Linked DNA regions of Homo sapiens: region 2 is linked to region 1. The links are contacts of gene promoters, found by promoter capture Hi-C in human tissues and cell types (Jung and others, 2019). All regions are on one chromosome and are shown on one strand. The core of a region is centred on a gene start or on the middle of the fragment in contact, and the rest is flanking DNA. Distances in the headings are between cores, read along the strand shown. Region 1 holds the start of MRPS21 (mitochondrial ribosomal protein S21). Region 2 overlaps OTUD7B (OTU deubiquitinase 7B).

Region 1 (7,399 bases), core at 1,928-4,427:
ACAGTGCTTTGCATATCATATCCTATTCAAATTCTTCAATGGCTCTCGAATGCTTTGAGAAGAAAGTCCAAAATCTTTAGTCACAGTCTCTATTTTTCCCTGTGCTCCCCTGCATGATCTCTCTGTTGCAGGTTTTTGTTTTGTTTTGTTTTGACTCCTGAACACTACACCTTTTTGCCCCTAAGCTCTTGTTCATGCTGTTCACCTTGCCAAACCTTTCCTGCTTCTGTTATCTAAACCCTGCCCTCTTTCAACGACTAACTCAAGTCCATCCTATCATTCTTTCTGTTAAACATGATCTATACACTCAGTGTTTGGCCGTTTACTCCATTAAATGGAATCATGTACATAAAATACCTAGTGCAGGGTTTGGGGCCTGGTGGGGTGGCTCACACTTGTAATCCTAGCACTTTGGGAGACCAGCCTGGACAACATAGTGAAACTATTAAAAATACAAAAAATTAGTCTCTACTAAAAATACAAAAAATTAGCTAGGCGTAGTGGCATGTCCCTGTAATCCCAGCTACTCGGGAGGCTGAGGTGGAAGGATCACCTGAGCTCAGGAGGTCCAGGCTACAGTGAGCTATGATGGTGCCACTGCATTCTAGCCTGGGCAACAAGAGTGAGACTCTGTTTCAGAAAAACAAAAACAAAAATAAAAAACACCCACCTAGTACAGGGTTTAGTATATAGTAGGCTCTCAAAAATGTTACTCTCCAGCTGATCCAATGGTAGTGGTTAACAGAACTTATTAACATCAGTTCCTGTCTCCCTTCCTTTCTTTCAAAGTATCTTCATATTTTTTTTCTCTTTTTTTTTTTTTTTTTTTTGGAGACAGAGTCTCGCTCTGTCACCCAGGCTGGAGTGCAGTGGCACCATCTCAGCTCACTGCAACCTCCACCTCCAGGGTTCAAGTGATTCTCTTGCCTCAGCCTCCCAAGTAGCTGAGACTACAGGCGAGCGCCGCCACGCCCAGCTGATCTTTTGTATTTTTAGTAGAGACGGGGTTTCACTGTGTTAGCCAGGATGGTCTCGATCTCCTGACCTCGTGATCCACCCGCCTCAGCCTCCCAAAGTGCTGGGATTACAGGCGTGAGCCACCGTGCCCGGCATATCTTCATATTTTATTCTATTTGATTCCCATGACAAATTTCGTGAGACTGAACAGGGCAAAATTAGTCCCATTTTAGAGATGAGGAAATAGAGTGAGTCTGGCAAGGGCCAGATAGTAAATATTTTAGGCTTTGTAGGCTTTATGTCTCTATTGCAACTACCCAATTCGGCCATCGTAGCCCAAAGCAGCCATACATAACACACAGTCAAATAAGCATGACTGTAGGTCAACAGCCTTATTTACAAAAACAGGTGGAGCAGGATTTGACCTGTAAACTGTAGTCTCCAGACCCCTGGTTTTAAATGACTTCTTCAAGGTCATAGGCCTGATGAGTATTAGAATTGGGATAGAATCCAGATCTCCCAACTTTGAAGCCAGTGCCTTTCACCACATTATGCTGTGGCATATTTTATTTATTATTTGTTTGTTTATTTATTTTTTGAAATGGAGTTTCACTCTTGTTGCCCAGGCTGGAGTGCAATGGTGCGATCTCGGCTCACTGCCACCTCCGCCTCCCAGGTTCATGTGATTCTCCTGCCTCAGCCTCCCAAGCAGCTGGGATTACAGGCATGTGGCACCACGCCTGGCTAATTTTGTATTTTTAGTAGAGACAGGGTTTCACCATGTTGGCCAGGCTGGTCTCAAACTCCTGACCTCAGGTGATCTACCCGCCTCAGCCTCCCAAAGTGCTGGGATTACAGGCGTGCGCCACCGCGCCTGGCCCTATTTATTTATTTATTCATTTTTAATTTTTTGAGACAGGGTCTCACTCTATTGCCCAGGCCAGGGTGCAGTGGTGTGATCAAAGCTCGCTGCAGCCTTGACCTTCCAGGCTCAGGTGATCCTCCCCCTCAGCCTCCCAAGTAGCTAGGACAACAGGCCATGCCACTACACCCGGCTAATTTCTATATTTTTTGTAAAGACGGAGTTTTGCTTTGTTGCCCAGGCTGGTCTCGAACTTCTGGGCTCAAGTGATCCGCCTGCCTTGGCCTCCCAAAGTGCTGGGATTACAGGTGTGAGCCACCGCGTCCAGCCCATATAATTTATTTTGCATTTATTATATACTACTTTGTTTTAGTATCTTTTATGTGGTCCTAGTGGTCCAGGAGGCACTAGAGTGGTATCAACAGTATCTGACACAGAGTAGTCATTCAGTGAAAGTTTGTTGACAAGCATAATAATGTCCCAATCTAGTTCTATTTCGTTACTTTGGACCTGGCTTACTCTGAGGTGGGCTTAAGTGTTAGTGTAAGTTATTAGCATCAACTGATGATGCACACGTCTGTGTCTGTGTCTGTGTGTGTGTGTGTGTGCGTGAGCGTGCGCGCGCACTCTCTCTCTAAGGGAGGTACGTTTTCCTACAGCCATTAGATGTTAACTTACGTGAATAACCATAAATGGATATGTACAGGTAGCATACAAATAGGAGGACGGGTGTCTCCACAGCGAAGAAGAAATTTAAAAGGAGGTTTTTCAGTAGGTCTCATTAGCACGAAAAGGCATAGAAGCTGACATAATTTTTTATTCTAAACCCTGCAGGTGTTTCCCATATATCTTTATTGATTTCACTTTATGTAGTTAAATTAGTGGGAAGATGATATAGGAAACTCACAGTATGTTTATTTCTTTTCCTTAGCACTTAGGCAGATGACGTGTATGAATCAATCTATTTTTCGTCCGGAGAGCAGATCTCAAAGAGTCTGTCCTTTCCAAAGAGAAAACAGGAAGCATCCTCAGGAAGCGCCTACTTCTCTTGTTTTCCATCGAGAAAGAGAAATGGCTCAAATATTTATCAAGGATTTCACAGGATTAAGGGGTATGAAATTGGGCTGACCTTCTCAGAGGCCGAAGGACTTCGACTCCATGAGAGGGCGAGAAACGTGTTTCGGGGGAATTTAAGTCAATGAGTATTTTGCTTTGTCAGGTGTAGAGTCCAGGCCCGGGGAAGAGAGGCAGTCAACAGAGGCCAGAAAGGACGTTGCTATGGTTTCCACGCACGTTGTCTCCCTCGGCCTGTTTCTTTGCGCGGCGCTGGCGATTCCGTAATTTCCGCTTCCGGTAGTGAGAACCCTTCCGGTGGGCTAGGTACTGAGCGCGCGAGGTGAGGAGTTGTGCAGGGTTTGGGGAAAGGAAGGCTGGCTTGGCGAGAGGGCAGGTTTGCGGGCTTTCGCCCCCTTTTCCAAAGACCAACAAAGAGTCCTTCCCCAACTCCCAACTCAACCCCTTTTGGAACTATGTGTGGTGGTTGGGACCCTGTGGCGCATCCTTGTCGCTCGTGTCCTTCTCATGCCCGGCGACGCGTCTTTGTGGTAACGCCCTGCTGCCATCTCTTTTCTTCTCTATGCGAGGATTTGGACTGGCAGTGAGAATAAGAGACAACGATTCACGTCTACTTTCTAGGATGACTTCCATGTGCTCCATCTCGCGCGTCCCTGAGCATGTTGAATTTCCAAATCCTAAATAAGCCGCGCGGTGTAGTTTGTATTATGTTGCGTTTCTCTTTCTGCTTTCCTCGCCCTTTCTCCATCATCCTTTAGGCTCTACAGAGTGAAGGTTTAAATCCAAGGTCATGGCAAAACATCTGAAGTTCATCGCCAGGACTGTGATGGTACAGGAAGGGAACGTGGAAAGCGCATACAGGACCCTAAACAGGTAACTGTTAAGGGACCAGAATCATGCCTAGACTCTCTGGGAAGTGCGGTGGTTATTCTCTCCCTTCCCCTTTCGTTGATTGTTCTCAAAACAGTGCCAGCCCAGGTGTTCACAGTCTCTTAAAACGTCTCAGCCCCTCAGTTTATTATCTTAAAAATGAAGTTCTGGGCCGGGCGCGGTGGCTCACGCCTGTAATCCCAGCACTTTGGGAGGCCGAGGCGGGTGGATCACATGCGGTCAGGAGTTTCAGACCAGCCTGGCCAACATGGTGAAACCGTGTCTCTACTAAAAATACAAAAATTAGCCGGGCGTGGTGGCAAACGCCTGTAATCTCAGCTACTCGAGAGCTGAGGCAGGAGAATCGCTTGAACCCGGGAGGCAGAGGTTGTAGTGAGCCAAGATCGAGCCACTTGCACTCCAGCCTGGGCAAGAGTGAGACTCTATCTCAAAAAAAAAGAAAAAAAGTTCTTCCTCAAACCTAACTGTATGAATTGTATTCAACAAGTAATCACCCCCCGCACCTCCCCGCTTTTAATTTTAATTTTAATTTTTTTTTTTTTTTTTGAGGCAGAGTCTCGCTCTGTCACCCAGGCTGGAGTGCAGCGGCACGATCTCGGCTCACTGCAAGCTCCGCTTCCTGGGTTCACGCCATTCTCCTGCCTCAGCCTCCTGAGCAGCCAGTACTACAGGCTCCCGCCACCACGCCCGGTTAATTTTTGTATTTATAGTAGAGATGGGGTTTCACCGTGTTGGCCAGGATGGTCTTGATCTCCTGACCTCAAGTGATCTGCCTGCCTCTGCCTCCCAAAGTGCTAGGATTACAGGCGTAAGCCACAGCGCCCGGCCCCGCTTTTTAAAAATTGAGACAGGGTCTTGCTGTGTCACTCAACAATCCTCCTGCCTCAGTCTCCTGACTAGCTGGGTCTAGTGACGCACGCCACCACCGCAGTTAATTTTTGTATTTTCTGTACAGAGGGAGTCTCGCCATGTTGCCCAAGCGTAATGACTCCTTTTATGAGGAACCTGAATTCTTTAGAAGACTTAAAAAAGAGCCCAAATGGAAAATCAAGATGTGAAGTTGCTAGGAAGCGGGAACGTAGTATGATAAATAGAAAGCTGAGGGAGTGATTGGTGTGGGACAAAGCTAAAGGAAAAGGTGAATTCAGATTGGCATCCTAGAGAAGCAGGCAAAAGATGGGAAAGCTCACTGGGTGGGATGACTCACACCTGTAATCCTAGCACTTTGGGAAGCCTAGTGGGGAGGATTGCTTGTTGCCAAGAGTTCAAGACCAATCTGGTAAACATAGCAAGACCCCATTTCTAAAAATATTAAGAAGAAAGGGAAAAAAAGAAAGATGGGAAAGCTTACAAGTTTTCAGGAAAGATACAGCATAAGGAAAAATACATAAATGGAAACAAACTAGCTGGGGTGGAGGAGCTTTATAGCTTCATTGAAAATTTTTGAATGCCAGGCTAAGAGATGTAGAAGAGCCCTAGTAATACTTTTTTTTTTTTTTTTTTAAAACGGAGTCTTGCTCTGTTGCCAGGCTGGAGCGCAGTGGTGCAGTCTCGGCTCACTGCAGCCTCCGCCTCCTGGGTTCAATTGACTCTTCTGCCTCAGTCTCCTGAGTAGCTGGGACTACAGGTGCCCACCACCACGCCTGGCTGATTTTTGTATTTTTAGTAGAGAGGGTTTCACCACGTTAGCCAAGATGGTCTCAATCTCTTGACCTCGTGATCCACCCGCCTTGGCCTCCCAAAGTGCTGGGATTACAGGCATGAGCCACTGCATCCGGCCCAGCCCTAGTAGTACTTTACCACTGAATTCTCAAGCAAAAAGTTCTTAACCTTCCCTTCTCACCAGTTGTGTGGATTTTGACTTTCTGGTATGACTCACGCGTCATTTTCTTTCCCCAATGTGAAGTAACATTTGGAGAAACAAACGCTTGTTGAGTTGAATTATCAAAGAATTGTAAGGAAGGGGCTCCTGTAGTGCTAGCTGCTCCAGAGGCTGAGGCAAGAGGATTGCTTGAACCCAGGAGTTCAAGACTGTAGTGTGAGTGCACTCTTGTTGTGCCTGTGAATAACCACTCCACTCTAACCTAGGAAGCATAGTGAGACCATGTCTCTTAAAAAAAATGTAGGAAAGATATTGCATGGGCTGCATTAAGGCCTTTAATGTGGTAGCTTTATTTCACAAGTAAGGGAAGCCTTGGAAGATCAGATTATCTTTATTGGGTTATGCAGTTATTGAATGGTGGAGAGGAGCCTAAAGCACATCTTTTTAGTGCAATGTTCTTTAATAATTATTACTAGTCTTACTAGAAATGGAAAGACTTATGGTGGTTCATTTTCCAATTTAGAATCCTTGTCTTGTCATTTCAGCAGGTGTCGCTTTAAAAAAAAAACCAGAATCCTCATCTGATTGGGTTTAAATATTGGTAGGGTTCTTGAGGACTGAGAGGGCAAAGGAAAGGGAACCTAGTTCTTAGCAAAGCAGAGAGTTCTAGGTGTGGAAGGCTGGATGGCAGAAGACCACAGTGAGGAAAAAAATGCTGTCAGCCGGGCGCGGTGGCTCACGCCTGTAATCCCAGCACTTTGGGAGGCCAAGGCGGGCGGATCACGAGGTCAGGACATCGAGACCATCCTGGCTAACACGGTGAAACCCCGTCTCTACTAAAAATACAAAAGATTAGCCGGGCGTGGTGGCACACACCTGTAGTCCCAGCTACTGAGGAGGCTGAGACAGGAGAATCGCTTGAACCCGGGAGGAGGAGGTTGCAGTGAGCCGAGAGCGTGCCACTACACTCCAGCCTGGGCAACAGAGCGAGACTCTGTCTACAAAAAAAAAAAGAAAAAATGCTGTCAGAAGCTGTGTAAATGAGAAGCAGTTGCAGGCTCAGAATGGTTTCTATGTCTTTTAAAAGGATCTGGTCTTAGGGTCAGGCGTGGTGGCTCATGCCTGTAATCCCAGCACTTTGGGAGGTTCAGGCGGGTGGATCACCTGAGGTCAGGAGTTCAATACCAGCCTGGCCAACATAGCGAAACCCTGTCTCTACTAAAAATACAAAATTAGCCATATGTGGTGGCAGGCGCCTGTAATCTCAGCTACTTGGGAGGCTGAGGCAGGAGAATCACTTGAACCTGGGAAATAGAGGCTGCAGTGAGCCAGAATCGTGCCACTGCATTCCAGTCTGGGCCACAGAGTAAGACTCAAAAAAAAAAATCTGGTCTGGGGTCAGCCACATCACTTAATTCTATGTGCATAACAATTATATCCTTGGGCTGAAGCTGTTCCCTCTACATTGTCACCTATGCTGAGAGTAAAGATAAGTACCAGGTTGTAAGGTATCCTGTTTCATTTTTCTCTGTTTCTCCTCATTTCTAACTCTCCTATTTCATACCTTCTGGTGGCATGTCTGAGAAGTATATTATGTCTAATGACCTTTCTCTGGCCCTACTTTGCTATCTTGGAAGTACAAAATGAACTTTTTTTTTTTTGAGACAGAGTTTCACTCTTATTGCCCAAGCTGGAGTGCAATGGTGCCATCTCGGCTCACCGCAACCTCTGCCGCCCATGTTCAAGCGTTTCTCCTGCCTCAGCCTCCTGAGTAGCTGGGATTACAGGCATGC
Region 2 (7,399 bases), core at 3,612-6,111, 290 kb before region 1:
ATAAATAAATAAATAAAGATGTGGCGGGGCAGAGGAAGTATAAAACATGAAGGAATGAACACATCAATTCAGGCCAGTAGTCATTTCTTGAGAAAGAGGAAGGAGGAAAGGATGCAGGGTGGAACTTCAGCTATATCTATAACATTTAATATTTTAAAGGGAGTAAGACATCTAACAAATATGACAAAATGTTAATGTCCATCAAGTTGGGGTTGTAGACTCAAAATTGCCTGAGTTTTTCCCCTGAACTTTTCTAAATGTTTGAAATATCTCATTATGCAAAATTGTAAAATTAATAAAGGGCCAGGTGATTTGATGAATAGAGGAGTCAACACAAAAACAGTCAGGAGCAGAATGGTTTCCCAAAACTATAAGGAGATATCTGACTTGTTCAGTTTTAGACTGAAGAGGAGCCTTCACATCCCTCAAACAGCAGCGCTTAGAACAGGGTAGAGTGAGGACTGACAAAAATGGACAAGAAGGTTTATTGCCATCTCAAATCAGATAGCAGAGGGGAGTGAAAAACCACCTTCCCACATAATTTAAATGCTAGTGTAACCAAGTTATCTCCCCTAAAACAGCCAAGAAAGCTTCCAGTTACACAGGAATTCAGATAAGTACTCACTGTGAGTAGCTATTCTGTGCCTCCTTTCTACCCACCCCTTCCTTCTCCCAAATACTCACAAACAAAAACAAAATGTACCCTTGCCCACTTGAGAAAGAATTAAGACTTGGCAGCTCTGCTTAAGTGGACAGCTTCCAAACCAAGGCCCTTCTCTGGGGAAGATGCTGACAGAGCCCAGAGAAAAGAATTTAAAAATCACAACTCAGACAAGTTTTGAGGAAGGCCTATCAATGGAAGGTATCCATCCTTCCACACGTCCTTAAGTCCCAATTTCTCCCAGGGGAATCTAAGGACTTAGAGGATGCCCTCTACCCTGTTCTGTTCTCCTCCAGCAAAAGTGACTAAAACACAAAATCCAAACTCTCACTTAGCACTTTAAAACCAAACAATTTCCCTCCACAAAAATCCAATGAAAATGAAAATACAGGGAAGATGCAGAATCTGAGTATTTAATATTTTAAAGAGAGTAAGACATCTAAAACAAATATGACAAAATGTTAATGTCCATCAAATTTGGGATGTAGGCTCAAAATTGTTTCTGTTTGGGTTTTTTCCCTGAACTTTTCTAAATTTTGTTTAGATATTCTTTTTTTTTTAGATAAATATACTTTTAATCAGTGCCCAATTTATCATAGCTTATTTAACAAGTTTCAGTGGCACAAATAAAACTAAGTTTAAAAGAAAACAACTTAAAGGGAGCTTAGTGGCAGAGATAAAGACATGCAACAAAACAAATACCTTGACATTCTTCTACATCTGAATCACTACAGCTGAAAAATCCTAACACCTCATTCAGCCCAGTCCAGGGCACCGAACTGCCCCTCTTCCCAATGGTACTCTCAGGGAACATCTTTCTCAGTCAGACCTAGGAAAATACCTCTATTCACTTTGGACTGGTTAAAAAAAGACGGTAGAATGGAATGATGTTAAGTCCTTCTATCTGCTAGTACAATGCAATGTGGCAGAATGACACAAACACTGAAATGGGACTTGGGAGAGAAGAGAGAGGTGAATTCACCTTTATTAATCACCTAGTACATGCTGAAGACTGAATTCTAGACTAAGCTATCACAGAACCACTTCTGTGATCCTGAGTAAACCTCAGGTATTCTATTTGAAAATGAATGAGGAAAACTAAGAAAGCATCGCAGCCCCGCCAGTTGTCTGATTCCATGAATCTGTAAATATGATCACTCTCAATAAATGTGTTCAGTATAATGAAGTTATTGAAAGGAATTCTGCTTTCTCCATCTCCAATCCACCCTACACACCACTGACATAATCTTTCTAGGATGTGAAACGTATTAAATGGCTCCTGATATACTGCAGTATAAGATAAAGCTCCAGGCCGGGCGTGGTGGCTCTCGCCTGTAATCCCAGCACTTTGGGAGGCCGAGGCGGGCGGATCGCGAGGTCAGGAGATCAAGACCATCCTGGCTAACATGGTGAAACCCCGCCTCCACTAAAAATACAAAAAATTAGCCGGGCATGGTGGCGGGCGCCTGTAGTCCCAGCAACTCGGGAGGCTGAGGCAGGAGAATGGCGTGAACCCGGGAGGCGGAGCTTGCAGTGAGCTGAGATTGTGCCACTGCACTCCAGCCTGGGTGACAGAGCAAGACTCTGTCTCAAAAAAAAAAAAAAAAAGATAAAAACTCTGTATGATCCAGCGTTGCCTACCTCTTCAGCCTGCCCTCCATCCCATCCTCCAGCCATAATGATTAAGTAAAAGTTACCTGAAGAAGTCTGGCCTTCATTCCTTTAAGCTTTTGTTCATGGTATTTTCTCAGACTGGAATGTAATTCTTGTCATCTGTAGAGTATATCCTTAATTCATCTTTCAAGACTCAGCTCAAATGCTAACTCCTCAGGGAGGCTCTTTCCAACCTCAGCATGCCCAAGGCAGAACTGACCCTTGGGCTCCCACTCTCCCTGCTGCATACTTCTATCACAGCATCTATCACACTTCATTCTATCTATATATTTACATATCTGTCTCCTCCCACTAGACCCATACGCTCCTCGTGGGTTCCTTGTCTCCCTTACCTCCATCTCAGTGCCTAGGATGGTGTTTACAAGATAGGAGACATGTTTAGGTTTAGACGTGTTTAGGTTTATCAGTACCATTTTCTTTGCCCTTCTGCTCTTTCCCTAAACTTTAGTCCTCAGAGAGCTTATTAATTCTCTTGGCTACAGCTACCACATCTAGGCCATGAATTGCAAAACTGCATTTCCAAACCTACCCCCATCTTTACTCCAGCTCACACCCAGGACAGCCTTCATTTGGACATTTCATTGCCACTTTAAATCCAACACATCGCAAATTATACTCATCATATTTCCCCAAAATGAGGAAAGCTTCCTAACTTCTTTATTTCACTCAATGTCTCAGACACCCAGGCACAACGTGTCACAGTTGTAGTTGACTCATCACCCTTCTTCATCTCCCACATCCACCCCTCATTAATTTCCATTTTTCCTTCACAGTCTCTTTTTCACTCTTTCCTCTCCTTAGCCTACCCTCCACAACTCTAACTCGGGCCTCATCACTTCACACACCCCCAGTGTCAATCTCCATTCCCTCCCAGCCAACCTGTGTATTAGTATCATCATACTGCTATTCTATTCAAAAATCTTCTACCATTTAAAATATAAAGTTGACCGGGCACGGTGGCTCATGCCTGTCATCCCAGCACTTTGGGAAGCTAAGGTGGGCGGATCACTTGAGGTCAGGAGTTTGAGACCAGCCTGGCCAACATGGTGAAATCCTGTCTCTACTAAAAATACAAAAATTAGCTGGGCATGCTGGTGCACGCCTGTAATCCCAGCTACTCAGGAGGCTGAGGCACGAGAATCACTTGAACCCAGGAGGCGGAGGTTGCAGTCAGCCAAGATTGTGTCACTGCACTCCAGCCTGAGCTGGACAACAGAGCAAGACCCTGTCTCAAAAAAATAAATAAATAAATACATAAATAAATAAATAAATAAATTTTATATATATATATAAACTTATAAGCCTAGCTTTTTAACACCCTCTATAAACATAGCTCCAAACCAACCTACCCACCTTCATTTCACTACTGCTCACTGCCACTCAGGTTAGTCTCCTCACCGCCCCAAGAACATCTCAGGTATAGTCCTGTTTCCAGGCTTTCGCTTGATCCCTTTCAGCTCCAATATGAAATGTTTTGTTATCCTCTTCATCTTCATCCCTTGTACCTAATACAATAACACTTATTCATTTATTTTTTTATTTATTTTGGAGACAGAGTCTTGCTCTGTCACCCAGGCTGGAGTGCAGTGGTGCTATCTCGGCTGTTTGCAACCTCCATCTCCTGGGTTCAAGTGATTCTCCTGCCTCAGCCTCCTGAGTAGCTGGGATTACAGGCGTGAGCCACTGTGCCTGGCCTATTTTTTTATTAAGATCTGAAATGAGTTATAATTCCTCTGTGACATAACTACCTGAGTACTCCTCTCCCCAAATACCTACGGTATGAGGTCTGCACTATGCAACTAACAATATAGTTTCACATTTTAAAATTTTGTGTGGCATATTAAGAGGCTCAGCAAGTATTCATTCCTTTTTATTCTTCTTACTCCCAACTGGACTGTAAACTCTTCAAGGACACAAAGTTGTCATTTTTCCTAATCCTCCATAGCACCTAGCAAAGAATTAAACTCATAGTGGGTCACTACAAATAACAGTTTAGTAATTTTCTTATCTACAGCTATTTCTTAGAGGAAATAAAGGGCTAAGGTATAATCCTAAAAAAAGCACAGTTGAAAATAATCCCTATCTAGTTGTATAAAATAAGATTCCTGACTTTTCCACCTGATTTCTAGCTCAGAAATACTACAATCTCCTGACTCAAGAAGTAAATAATAATCCTGTGCTCGTGACATCAGTTTGGTAATGATTATAAAGAGGTGGGGGAGAGTGGCAGGGATGGAGAAAAGCAAGTCAACTGGAGAAGAAAAAAAAGGGATGAAAGAATGGCATGTGATTTTGTTTACTTCTTAAATGTGGACACTTCTGCCCATTCCTTTTTTTTTTAATTGGACATACTTTCAAACAACTTTCCTACAGGAGGAAAAGTCTGACAGATTTTCAATGAAGCTGATATCTGGAAGAGCCTCTACAAAGCACAAGTCCTTTGAGAAAGCCGGCTTAATCTTCAACAACACAACATAATGTAGTGGCATTCGTCCAGATACTGTGAATGAAGGCTCATTCTGGCTGGAACACAAGCATCACCTGCCAGTCATTCTCAGACATAAGACAGACAGCCTAGGAGGCCACATTGGATCCATACAGATTTTGAAAAGAAATTGGTCTATCAACATATTCAGTGTAGTCTAGTCTTAATTATCTACAAATGGATTATTCATTTTACGGATTTCTAAGGCCAAATCTTTAATGCAAGAATGACTGTTCTTCATCATCAGTGTACTCTCCCCACCATCAGGTAATATAAGCTTAGAAATGCAAATTTATTTCAATATTAGTATGATCCCCAAAAATGAAAATAAATCTAGTTTAAAAAATAATGTATTTTCGGCCCGGCACACTGGCTCACGCCTGTAATCCCAGCACTTTGGGAGGCCGAGTCAGGCGGATCACGAGGTCAGGAGATCAAGACCATCCTGGCTAACACGGTGAAACCCCGTCTCTACTAAAAATACAAAAAATTAACCGGGCGTGGTGGTGGGCGCCTGTAGTCCCAGCTACTCGGGAGGCTGAGGCAGGACAATGGCATGAACCTGGGAGGCAGAGCTTGCAGTAAGCTGAGATTGCGCCACTGTACTTCAGTCTGGGAGCAAAGTTGTCATTTTTCCTAAACCTCCATAGCACCTAGCAAAGAATTAAACTCATAGTGGGTCACTACAAATAACAGTTTAGTAATTTTTCTTATCTAAAACTATTTCTTAGAGGAAATAAAGGGATAAGGTATAATCCTAAAAAAAACACAGTTGAAAATAACCAGGAAATGTCTTTGTTAAGTTCTGAATTACCTACAACAGTGCTCCCTACATTAGCAGAGACAACTGAGAGTTAAATGCACTTGAAACATAATGCTGTCCTTACTATAAGCTCTTGAGGAGAATCCGGCCATAGTCTTGAGACTTCCCCACAGGTTGGTGCACTACGAGACAGGAACAAGCAGGCTCAGCATAGTAAGGTGTGTAAACACAAAAACTTCTACAAGGAATCTTATGCCTCCTGGCTGTATCCCTTCAGGTTAGGATGGTACAGAAAATAAGAGTCACAATGTACGGATGCCTGCCTGATTCCTTGTCCCTGAGTTCCTGAACCAAAGGGCTCAATATTTCTCATTAAATCCGTCCTTTGTTCAAGGACCTACAATGATTCTATTGACCCTTCTATCAACACCCAACAGAGTCTGGCTTCTGAGTCCCCTCCACCCTCTTGCCTGCTCTACTCATGACTTGCCCAACCCACATTCTCTACAGTCACTCTCATATATTCCCCCCACTCACAACTTAGTCATTCATATCATCATTGCACACTGTACATTCTATACTTTCTGTTTGGAAGATCCTTTCTTTTCTTTTATTCCCAACACAGTAACTATTTCATTTACTTGAATGCTCACATTTTACAGATAAGGAAAAGAAGTTAACTTGTCCAAGGTCACATGGTAAAAAATAGCCGCAAGGTCTGAACGAAGACCCATCTAACTCAATAGCCCATACCTCTTTATGACTCATCCATAGCCTCCCAAGTCCATTTCAAAATTTACTGACTCAGAAATCTCCCCAATTTATTTCACTGATTCTTACTTTGTTACTTTAAGTCTTCTCAGCCCTTACATACTTATCAGCACGTTAAATTTGCTTTTGTCTATATGTTGTTTCCTAAATGTTAAAGCTCATAATAGTCTGCCTTCCCATATTTATACACCACCTTTCCCATCCACCCTCAACCCCAAGAGCAAAGACACATGTCTTTACATCTTTTATACCTCCCTAAAGCCTGTCACTGGAGCATGGAGACTGCTTTATCCAGAGAAGTGTTCAATCATTACTCAGCAAGGATGTCTTATTTAAAAACAAACAAACAACTCTCTTCTATTATATTAAAAAGTCAACTGAATTCAGGCATTCATGAGAAAAACTGCCCTGTATCTATCTTCCAGTTACACAAATTTTTAATTACCTGAATTTATCAGAGGCTACAAAAAAGATTCCACAGTCTGCTATTCCACAGCTCCTAAGTTCCCATAGGAAAGATACTGCTGAGGTCACATTTCAAAGCGCTGTTTAAGGATTTTCCCTTTGGTGGGATGAGTGTTTAGGGTAAGGAGAGTGCTACTCATACACACATACACCCACACTATAATGGCCAGTGTCTTTTAGCATGCTTAAGATACTCAGGAGCTCCAAAACTTTGACAAGTGGCACTTAGTGCCCTCATAACAATCAGAATACTTATTTTGGTTACATACATTGAATCTCAAAATTGCAAATAAAGCCTCCTGAGAACTAGGAATAGTGGTGGACTACCAGGCAGCTCTCCACTCATTCCTAGGCTTCTTCAACCCCTTTGATCCCCATGCCCTGGAATAAAGTATGCAGTTCAACTTAGGGAGTTGCTAGATGCAGATATAAATAGAATTTACCCAGATATCATCACTAATATTGGCACCAATCAACTCACACAGATCAAAACAATTATTGATCATCAACAGATTCTGGGAAAGGTGTATGTGGTTTTTAAAAATTAGATTTTCGTCTCCAAATTAAGTCGTTTTTTAAA

What was found. Contacts are between HindIII fragments. The study calls those that stand out against the background at their distance.
Region 2: a fragment that was not itself captured here is called in contact with the fragment with the promoter of MRPS21 in region 1 in 2 of the 25 tissues and cell types used here (aorta and dorsolateral prefrontal cortex).

Annotation. Positions count from the first base shown.
Region 1 is chr1:150,290,684-150,298,082 of GRCh38, forward strand. MRPS21 (mitochondrial ribosomal protein S21) reads left to right here and starts at 3,178. Exons shown (of 3, transcript NM_031901.6): 1 at 3,178-3,215; 2 at 3,652-3,766. The coding sequence starts at 3,684. It overlaps LOC105371434 (a long non-coding RNA gene), which reads right to left and starts at 3,137. Exons shown (of 2, transcript XR_922129.4): 1 at 2,949-3,137; 2 at 2,617-2,814. RefSeq lists enhancers at 3,466-3,525, 6,359-6,916. The HindIII fragment of the contact is 19,456 bases long and covers 1-7,399 here.
Region 2 is chr1:150,000,998-150,008,396 of GRCh38, forward strand. The region is part of intron 1 of OTUD7B (OTU deubiquitinase 7B); the gene reads right to left. Among named protein-coding and RNA genes, the nearest start is that of OTUD7B, 6.0 kb to the right of the region's middle. The HindIII fragment of the contact is 6,747 bases long and covers 1,489-7,399 here.